3 separate regions of the Homo sapiens genome follow, and all the other regions are linked to region 2. Evidence: promoter capture Hi-C in 16 types of primary human blood cells and fetal thymus (Javierre and others, 2016). All regions are on one chromosome and are shown on one strand. The core of a region is centred on a gene start or on the middle of the fragment in contact, and the rest is flanking DNA. Distances in the headings are between cores, read along the strand shown.

The links. Contacts are between HindIII fragments. The CHiCAGO score rates a contact against its expected background, and 5 or more counts as called.
Region 1: a fragment that was not itself captured here is called in contact with the fragment with the promoter of WFDC5 in region 2 in 3 of 17 cell types (total B cells, naive B cells and endothelial precursors); the score reaches 6.5 in total B cells.
Region 3: a fragment that was not itself captured here is called in contact with the fragment with the promoter of WFDC5 in region 2 in 1 of 17 cell types (M1 macrophages); the score reaches 5.3 in M1 macrophages.

Annotation. Positions count from the first base shown.
Region 1 is chr20:45,771,401-45,774,100 of GRCh38, reverse strand. No RefSeq gene overlaps it. Among named protein-coding and RNA genes, the nearest start is that of WFDC3, 19 kb to the left of the region's middle. RefSeq lists enhancers at 1,848-2,440, 2,441-2,700. The HindIII fragment of the contact is 3,130 bases long and covers 1-2,700 here.
Region 2 is chr20:45,113,756-45,116,471 of GRCh38, reverse strand. It overlaps WFDC5 (WAP four-disulfide core domain 5), which reads left to right and starts at 1,298. Exons shown (of 4, transcript NM_145652.4): 1 at 1,298-1,473. The coding sequence starts at 1,389. RefSeq lists enhancers at 861-1,360, 1,361-1,862. The HindIII fragment of the contact is 2,929 bases long and covers 150-2,716 here.
Region 3 is chr20:45,676,474-45,679,173 of GRCh38, reverse strand. No RefSeq gene overlaps it. Among named protein-coding and RNA genes, the nearest start is that of WFDC11, 7.6 kb to the right of the region's middle. The HindIII fragment of the contact is 531 bases long and covers 1,105-1,635 here.

The DNA of each region.
Region 1 (2,700 bases), core at 32-2,531, 660 kb before region 2:
TTGTGAGGACACTGAAAATGGGTTTTGGTTGGGTGTGGCTAGGGAAGAGATGGGTGGAAACTAAACTGAGAGTGACTTGCCATAGATGTCTTTCTCAAGCCCTGGTGGGGGTGGAGGTCAGTCTCTTTTAGACCTGCTGACCTTCTTTCTTTTATTGGAGAATGTGGGTTGAGGGTGGAAACTAAACTGAGAGTGACTTGCCATAGATGTCTTTCTCAAGCCCTGGTGGGGGTGGAGGTCAGTCTCTTTTAGACCTGCTGACCTTCTTTCTTTTATTGGAGAATGTGGGTTGAGGGTGGAACAAGGGTGAGTGGCTAGTTTTTTTTTTTTTTTGAGATGTAGTCTCACTCTGTTGCCCAGGCTGGAGTGCAGTGGCGCAATCTTGGCTCACTGCAACCTCTGCCTCTCAGGTTCAAGTGATTCTCCTGCCTCAGTCTCCCGAGTAGCTGGGACTACAGGCGCGCTACCATGCCTGACTAATTTTTGTATTTTTAGTAGAGACGGGGTTTCACCATGATGGCCAGGCTTATCTTGAACTCCTGACCTCAGGTGATCTGCCTGCCTTGGCCTCCCAAAGTGCTGGGATTACAGGCGTCAGCCACTGTGCCCAGCCGAGTGGCTAGTTTCTTATAGATGTTGGAATGTTCCCACCTTGGACCTCCTTCCTTGAGGGCCAGCCCTTGGCTCCAAGACAGGCAGTTTGTCCCCTCCAGGTAGCTTTATTTTAGGGAGGGGATATCCCTAGGTTCTTGGGACCAAGATAATTTTTTAAAGTTATGTTTTTTATTTATATGAAATGGATTATATTGTGTATCTTGGAGATCTTTCATGTCATCACGTATATTCTTTTAATAGAACTCTATGAAATGGGTAATTTATTTAACTAGTTATCTTTTTTTTTTTTTGAGACGAAATCTTGCTCTGTCGCCTAGGCTGGAGTGCAGTGGCACGATCTCCGCTCACTGCAACCTCCGCCTCCTGGGCTCAAGCAATTCTCTTACCTCAGCCTTCTGAGTAGCTGTGCCTTTGACTGTTTTAGTAGAAACCCTGTCTCTACTAAAAATACAAAAATTAGCCGGGTGTGGTGGTGTGATGATATAATGATTTTTAAAAAAACTATGTGCATGTATTCGAGTTTTTAAATAAACAACAAAATGATAAAACAGTGGAAGAGGGATCTGCCAAAATGTTCAGCAGCCCATCACACAGACACTGGCCCTTCCCAGTTCCCTGCAACATGATCCTGGAGTCATGGATGTTTCTGGGTTGGCCACTGCGAGGTTCATGCCAGCCACTCTTTTTCAGATCAGGCAACATTGACATGTCTACTGTACTGAAAAGAGATAAATGTTCTGAACCAGGTAGAAACCAGAATTTCACATGCCAGGATGAAAACAAGGGGGAGAAGGCACAGACACTCAGCAGTGGTCGGGTGCAGTGGCTCACGCCTGTAATCCCAACATTTTCGGAGGCCAAGGCAGGCAGATCACTTGAGGTCAGGAGTTCAAGACCAGCCTGACCAACATGGTGAAACCCCGTCTCTACTAAAAATACAAAAATTAGCCAGGCTTGGTGGTGCACGCCTGTAATCCCAGCTACTCAGGAGGCTGAGGCAGGAGAATTGCTTGAACCTGGGAGGTGGAAGTTCCAAGTGAGCCGAGATCCTGCCATTGCACTCCAGCCCGGGCGACAAGAGCGAAACTCCATCTCAAAAAAAAAAAAAAAAAAAAAAATCATCAGTATGGTAGAACTTTCAATGAAAAACAACAGTCTGGGAATCCTCTCATATTGCAGAATGATGTTCTGTCAGGGTGGAGAGTGGGACTGGAGAGACAGGTGTGAGCCCCAGGCACAGCTCAGGCTGAGCAATGGGAGAGCTGCTCCTTGCAGACCTTTCCTCCTCGTCTGGAGGCTCACCCTTTCCAGAGGGAGCTGCTGACCTGCTTACAGGTAGCAACGTCGAGAGAGATAGAGAGATAGATAGATGTATAGAGAGATAGAGATGGAGATGAGAGAGAGATAGAGATGAGAGAGAGTGCTGAAGGGTTAAATTTGAAAGCTGGCGGTTAAAGGCTGAGCTGGGGCCAAATTCCCACCCCCAGGTCTTTCTGGGCAGCTTTCTCTACTGTTGGACCCTGAACTAAAGAAGCCATTAGAACCTTTCCTTCCTCAGGGTTTAAGTCCATTTCAGCCTTGGTCCTGGGGTGGAAATGACCCAGGAGCAGGTCTCAGTGGACCGTGATCCTACTCTCTCACCTTGCACCCCGAAATTAGCCTCTGACCAGGTTGAAAAGCCACCCTTCTCCCCCGCCCTGCTCCTCAGCTTCCTCATCGTGGGCAGGAATGTCTGGGGCTCCAGTGTAGGCTGAGAAAGACTTGTTCTTTGACCAGAACCACGCAGCTCCTCCCTTCTCCACCCTGCTTCTTGACCATCTGGTTGTAGAAATCTCAGACTCCATATGTGCCCTTGGCCCCAGCAATACCATGGGCCCCTGCAGCCTCCACTGCTCCCGTGGGGGCATGATGTTATTGGTAAGGCGTGTAAGTGGGGTGAGGAAGGCAGGAGGCCCAGAGCGTATCCTGGCAGTGGGTTGCTCTTGAGTTGGGAGAGGTGTCTTTCCTTTCATATACAAGTTAAGCCTTCTCCTCAAGGGATTGTGTGGAGAAGCCCAGCTTCCCACAGATTCAGCAATATAAACA
Region 2 (2,716 bases), core at 49-2,548:
AAGAAAGAAATGAAAAAAGGAAAGAAAGAAAAAGAAAAAGAAAGAAAGAAAAGAAAAAAGAAAGAAAGAGGGAGGGAGGGGTGGAGGGAGGGAGGGGTGGAGGGAGGGAGGAAGGAAGGGCTCATATATTTGTCCTCCAAAATAAAGCTTCCAAGGAGGTGCCAGCATTCCAAAAGCAACATCAGATCATAGAAGACAGAGCCTCTCCTATCTTAATAGCTTAGAAGACAGCACGAGAGATTCACATTAAACCCAAGGAAGAACTTCCTGCTGCCAGGGCTGTCCTGGATTGGAATGGGTAAGTGAGACAAGCCCTGTAATATCACCCTCCTTTCTCAGGATCAGATGAGGTATTGACCTGCTTTTAAAACCCAGGAACTGAATGAGGGTGATGGGGAGGCCACAGTGGGAAGTCCCAGCTTAGTCAGGAATTAGCTGCGTGTCCTTGGGCCAGTCCCCTCTCATCTCTATCTCACAGTTTCCTCGTCTTTCAAATGAGAAGGCTGAGAGAATGTACTTCGATGGAGTTTCTGTTTAGGATGTCCCTTAGGATGCCAAGTCTCAGCTCCCTCTCTTCTACCAAATGCAGGAGGCAACATCAGAGATACGAAATCTAAGGTGGGGGTCCCTGGATGAGATGACATTTTTTTGCTCAGGATCCCTTAGGGCCAGAGAAGAGGTTCCAGTGGCCACACATCTGCTGTGACCAGCAAACTTAGCCAAGCCAAAAGCCATGCTCCCCCACCCTCAACAGCCAAGCCAGCCCCAGGAAGAGGGCAGTTCTATCAGAAGCCACTGGTGATCTCACCAAAGGCGGGGTGGTCTTTCTCCCATCCACAGGACCCAAGAGGAGAGGCCAGGGCTGGCCTCACTCATTATGCCAGCCTGGGCCAGCCTTCTTTGGCTGCAAGCTCTGGCCTAACCCTAATGCCTTCTCCCTTCCTAGGCATCCAGAACTCTGCAAACCCCCACTCCTTTGCTATTCAAAGCTGACCTCTACCCGCTGCCTAGACATCGCTGGGGCTTCAACATCTTTGAGAGCCAGGATAGCAAGCATCTGCCTCAACAACCTTCACCCTGTGTACAGATGAAAAAACTGAAGCCCAGAGAGACAAGACTTGCCCAAGATCACAGCCCAAGTCACCGATACAGGCAAGACTGGATCTGAGTCCCCCACATGCAGGATGTGCCGCCACCCTATCTTCAGCTATTGTGACAGCATCCCTTGCACTGAGTCCTCGGGCCCTCAGGGGGTGGGGCCAAGATGAAGCAGGCACGGTGTCACTCCACACCCCCTCTCTTTCCTCTCCTGACTAAGTTTCTCTGGCTTCCCTGAGGCTGCAGGTGTTAATCTGGGGGGCCCTGGGCCCTGAGCCGGCAGCAGAAATATGAGGACCCAGAGCCTTCTCCTCCTGGGGGCCCTCCTGGCTGTGGGGAGTCAGCTGCCTGCTGTCTTTGGCAGGAAGAAGGGAGGTGAGTGCGGGAAATCCCTCTGCTGGGGGGACCAGATTGTCTCTACTTCTCTAGGGAGAGTAAGGGTTTGGGGGAAGGCAGGTAATGCCCTGTGGGGTGTGTGTGCGCGTGTGTGTGTGCGTGCGTGCGTGTGTGTATGTGTGGATGCCTGATTCTTAGTGCTTTCAGAAGCCTGTGTTTTTATGTGTGTACATTTGTGCCTGTCCACCTGCCTGTGTTGGTATCTGTAAGTGTCTTTTCTGCCAGTTTCTCGGTGCTTGTCTGTGCCTGTCTATATGTCAGGGGGTGGCAGGGCGGGGAATGCATGTGCCTGTGTCTGTGTAGACATGTGTCTTTGCGTCTGCTTGTCTGTGCAAAGCTCTGTCTGCACACGTACACTTAGGAATGGCTGCACGCATGTGTCTGAGCTTGGTGCCTGTCCATGTGTGTCTCTGTGCCTTCAGGTGTGGGGAGGGACCCTGTCTGTGCCTGCTGGGCTGTGGTGTGACTGGGTCAGTGGGTCCACCACCCCATCTGTGGAAGGGACTTGGGAATTGAGGAGAGGGTGTGGCTTCTGGGATCTGGGCTTTGTGGGGAGGAAGCTCTGTCTCTAACTCTCATCGCCCCCAACCTCCTGTCCCCATTCCCACCCCTGACAAGGCTGGGGCTGGCCTGCTGACAGGTGAGGGAGGGCTGCTGAGTGGCTAGACAGGTGACTCCTGATCTGGGTGAGGCCTCCACCTGCGTCCTTTTCTGGGGCTGGAACACTCCAACCTACATTCACCTGTGCAACCCTTGCCCTGCCTTAAAGAAAGGGGACAGTAATGGGGACAGGCTGAGGAAGGAAGTACACTGGTGAGCTCCAAGGCTGGACCCTGTGTTGGCTGTGATTCATGCACCATCATCACGTAACTCCTCGACAAGGTGCTGTGAGGACAGGACTATTTTCATCCCCATTTTGCAGATGAGGAAAATTGAGGCATAGCGGGGAACCACTTAACAAGGTCAAAGACTGACTCTGAGTTAGTGCCAAATGTGGCATTTGAATGCAAGTATTTGAAATCAGAAAGATTCACCTTACCAACTATTACAGCAAAAACCCAGGACTGTACAGGACAATGCACCCCCAACATAGGAAGGAGCTGAGAGACCAGAGAATGACTTAGACAAGGCCAGATTAGCAAGTGCATGAGTGCAAGTATTTGAAATCAGAAAGATTCACTTTACCAACTATTACAGCAAAAACCCAGGACTGTACAGGACA
Region 3 (2,700 bases), core at 121-2,620, 560 kb before region 2:
AGATCTCCTGGGATCACTTCCTGACACAAAAATAAAATGAAAAACTATTCAAAGACAAGAATGCCACCCTGAATACACCAGAACTTGAGAAGCAGAGAAACCCCCTGGGCTCATAGAATTGAGAGAAGCAGTGACAGGTAAGAGAAATGGTCATTTCAGCCTGTTCCACCCTCTCTCCCAGGCCATAATAATACCACTCACAGAGAACTTCCCTAGACCCACAGTTGCTGAGATGAGAAGAAGGAATTGGAGGTGGATATTTGATCTTCCCACTTGTCTAGGAATCTTAATGGTAAGTCCACTCCAGTTTCATCCCACTAGAGAACCAAGAGGGCTGAAAAACCTGGGGTGAATTGGGGACAAAGAGTAGGTCACTGATTGCAGCAACTGGCATGTGGATCTTGGTGATTGTTCAGTGCTTTGATCAGTGGGGATGCCATATTGAAGAGACTGGTGGGGGGGCCAGAGTATTGTAGGGGACAAAATTTATGGGAAGGCCCAAATCCACAAAGCCCAGGTGCACATGTGAAGCTTTTCCCTGGCCCAGAAACAACTAAAAGGTCAAGATTTTCAGTACCCACCTAAGTTTTTCCCACACTGAGAAACAATAGTAGGGCAGCAATATTGTTCCAGGGCATTTAAGCTGTGGTGCTCACTATAAGTTTTCCTTACACTGGGAAACAATGACAGGGCAATGAGTTAGGTCCAGTGCAATGTTTTAGTTCTGATGCTCACTATTAAGCCCTCTCTACAGTGTAAAGCAACAACAGGCCAGTGTTTAAGTTCTAATACTAAGAAGTAAAGGTCTAACACCATGAAAGAGCACCTGCAAAAGCTGGAAGAGTTGGCAGTCGCCTCAAATATGCAGGCATCCATGTAAAGATACAAGGCTTGTGAAAACTCAGAAATATTCAATACCATCAAAAGAAATCAACAAAGCTCCAGGAATGGTCCCAGAAGAATTGAAGATTTATAGAAACAATGAAAAAAAAAACCAAGCAATAGAAATAGAAATACTAGTAATAAAGAATAAAATAATTGAACTGAAAAACTCATTATAAAGCTTCAACAGCAGACTTGAGCAAACAGAGGAATTAGCAAGCTTGAAGACAGAACATTTGAAATCACCAATCAGAGGAACAAAAAGAGAAAAAAAAGAATGAAGAAGGTCTACAAGAACTATGGGACATCATCAGGCAAATTAACCTCTGCATAATTAGAATTCCTAGAGAAGACAAGAGAGAAAGGGCCCACAAAGCATATTTAAAGAAATAATGGCTGAAAATTTCCCAAATCTGGAGAAAGATGACAGCATCCAGGTGCAGGAAGCTCAGAAGTCACCAATGAAATTCAACCCAAACAGGAAATCCACAAGGCATATAATAATAAAATTATCAAAAATCAAAGACAGAAAGAATACTCAAAGTAGCAAGAAAAAAGAAACATATTACATTAGATGAAGCCTCAATATGGCTTTCATAGAAACCCTGATGACCAGATGACAGTGAGATGTTATATTCAAAGTGCTGAAGGAAAAACCTGCTAACCCTCAAAAATCTACCCTTCAAACATGAAGGAGAGATTAGAGACTTTCCCAAACAAGCAAAAGCTGAGAGAATTCACCAACACTAAGCTTGTCTTATAAAAAATGCTAAAAGGACTGTTTCATGTGAGGGCCATATGTGCAAAGTGTCCCCCAAATGCTGAAGGAGCCAAGAAACCAAAAAAACAACCAGAGAAATCCAGTTTGTCAGTAAAGTGTGTTTTTACTAGAAGAACTTACAGACAGCTATCCTATGTTCACGGACTGGAAGAATCAAAATTGGCAAAATGTCCATACTATCCAAAGTGATGTACAGATTCAATGCAATCCATATTAACATTCTAATGTCATTCTTCACAGAAACAGAAAGAAATAATCTGAAGCTTCACATGGAACCACTGGAAACCCAGAATAGCCAAAGACAAATTTACCAAAAAGAAAAAGATAGAGGTATCACACTGCTGGATTTCAAAATGTATTACAAAGGTATAGTAATAAAAACAGCATGCTATTGGCATAAAAACAGACACAGCAACTGATGGAATAGGTTAGAGATTTCAGAAATAAGCCCATACGTTTATGGTCAATTGATTTTCAACAAGGGCCCAAAGAACACACAATGGGGAAAGGACAGTACCTTCAATAATTGGTGTGGGCAAAACTATATCTATATGCAGAAGAATGAAAGTGGACCCTTATCTTACCTCTTATACTAGAATGAACTCAAAATGAATCATAGACTTAAATGTAAGACATGAAACCGTAAAAACTACTAGAAGAAAACATAGTGGGAAAGCTTCATGACATTGGTCTTGGCAGTGATTTATTGGATATGATCTCCCAAAGCACAAGCAACAAAAGCAAAAATAGGGGAATAATATTGTATTAAACTAAAAGCCTTCTGCCCAGCAAAGGAAACAACACAGTGAAGACATAACCCACATATTGGGAGAAACTATTTGGATGATAAATCAGATAAGGAGCCAATATCCAAAATATGTAAGAAACTCAAACTACTCAAAACAAGAAAACAACCCTATTTAAAAAATGGGCAGAGGACCTGAGTAGACATTTCTCAAAAGAAGACATACAAATGTCCAACAGATATATGAAAAAATGCTCAACATTTCTTATTTATTTATTTTTACTTGTTGCTG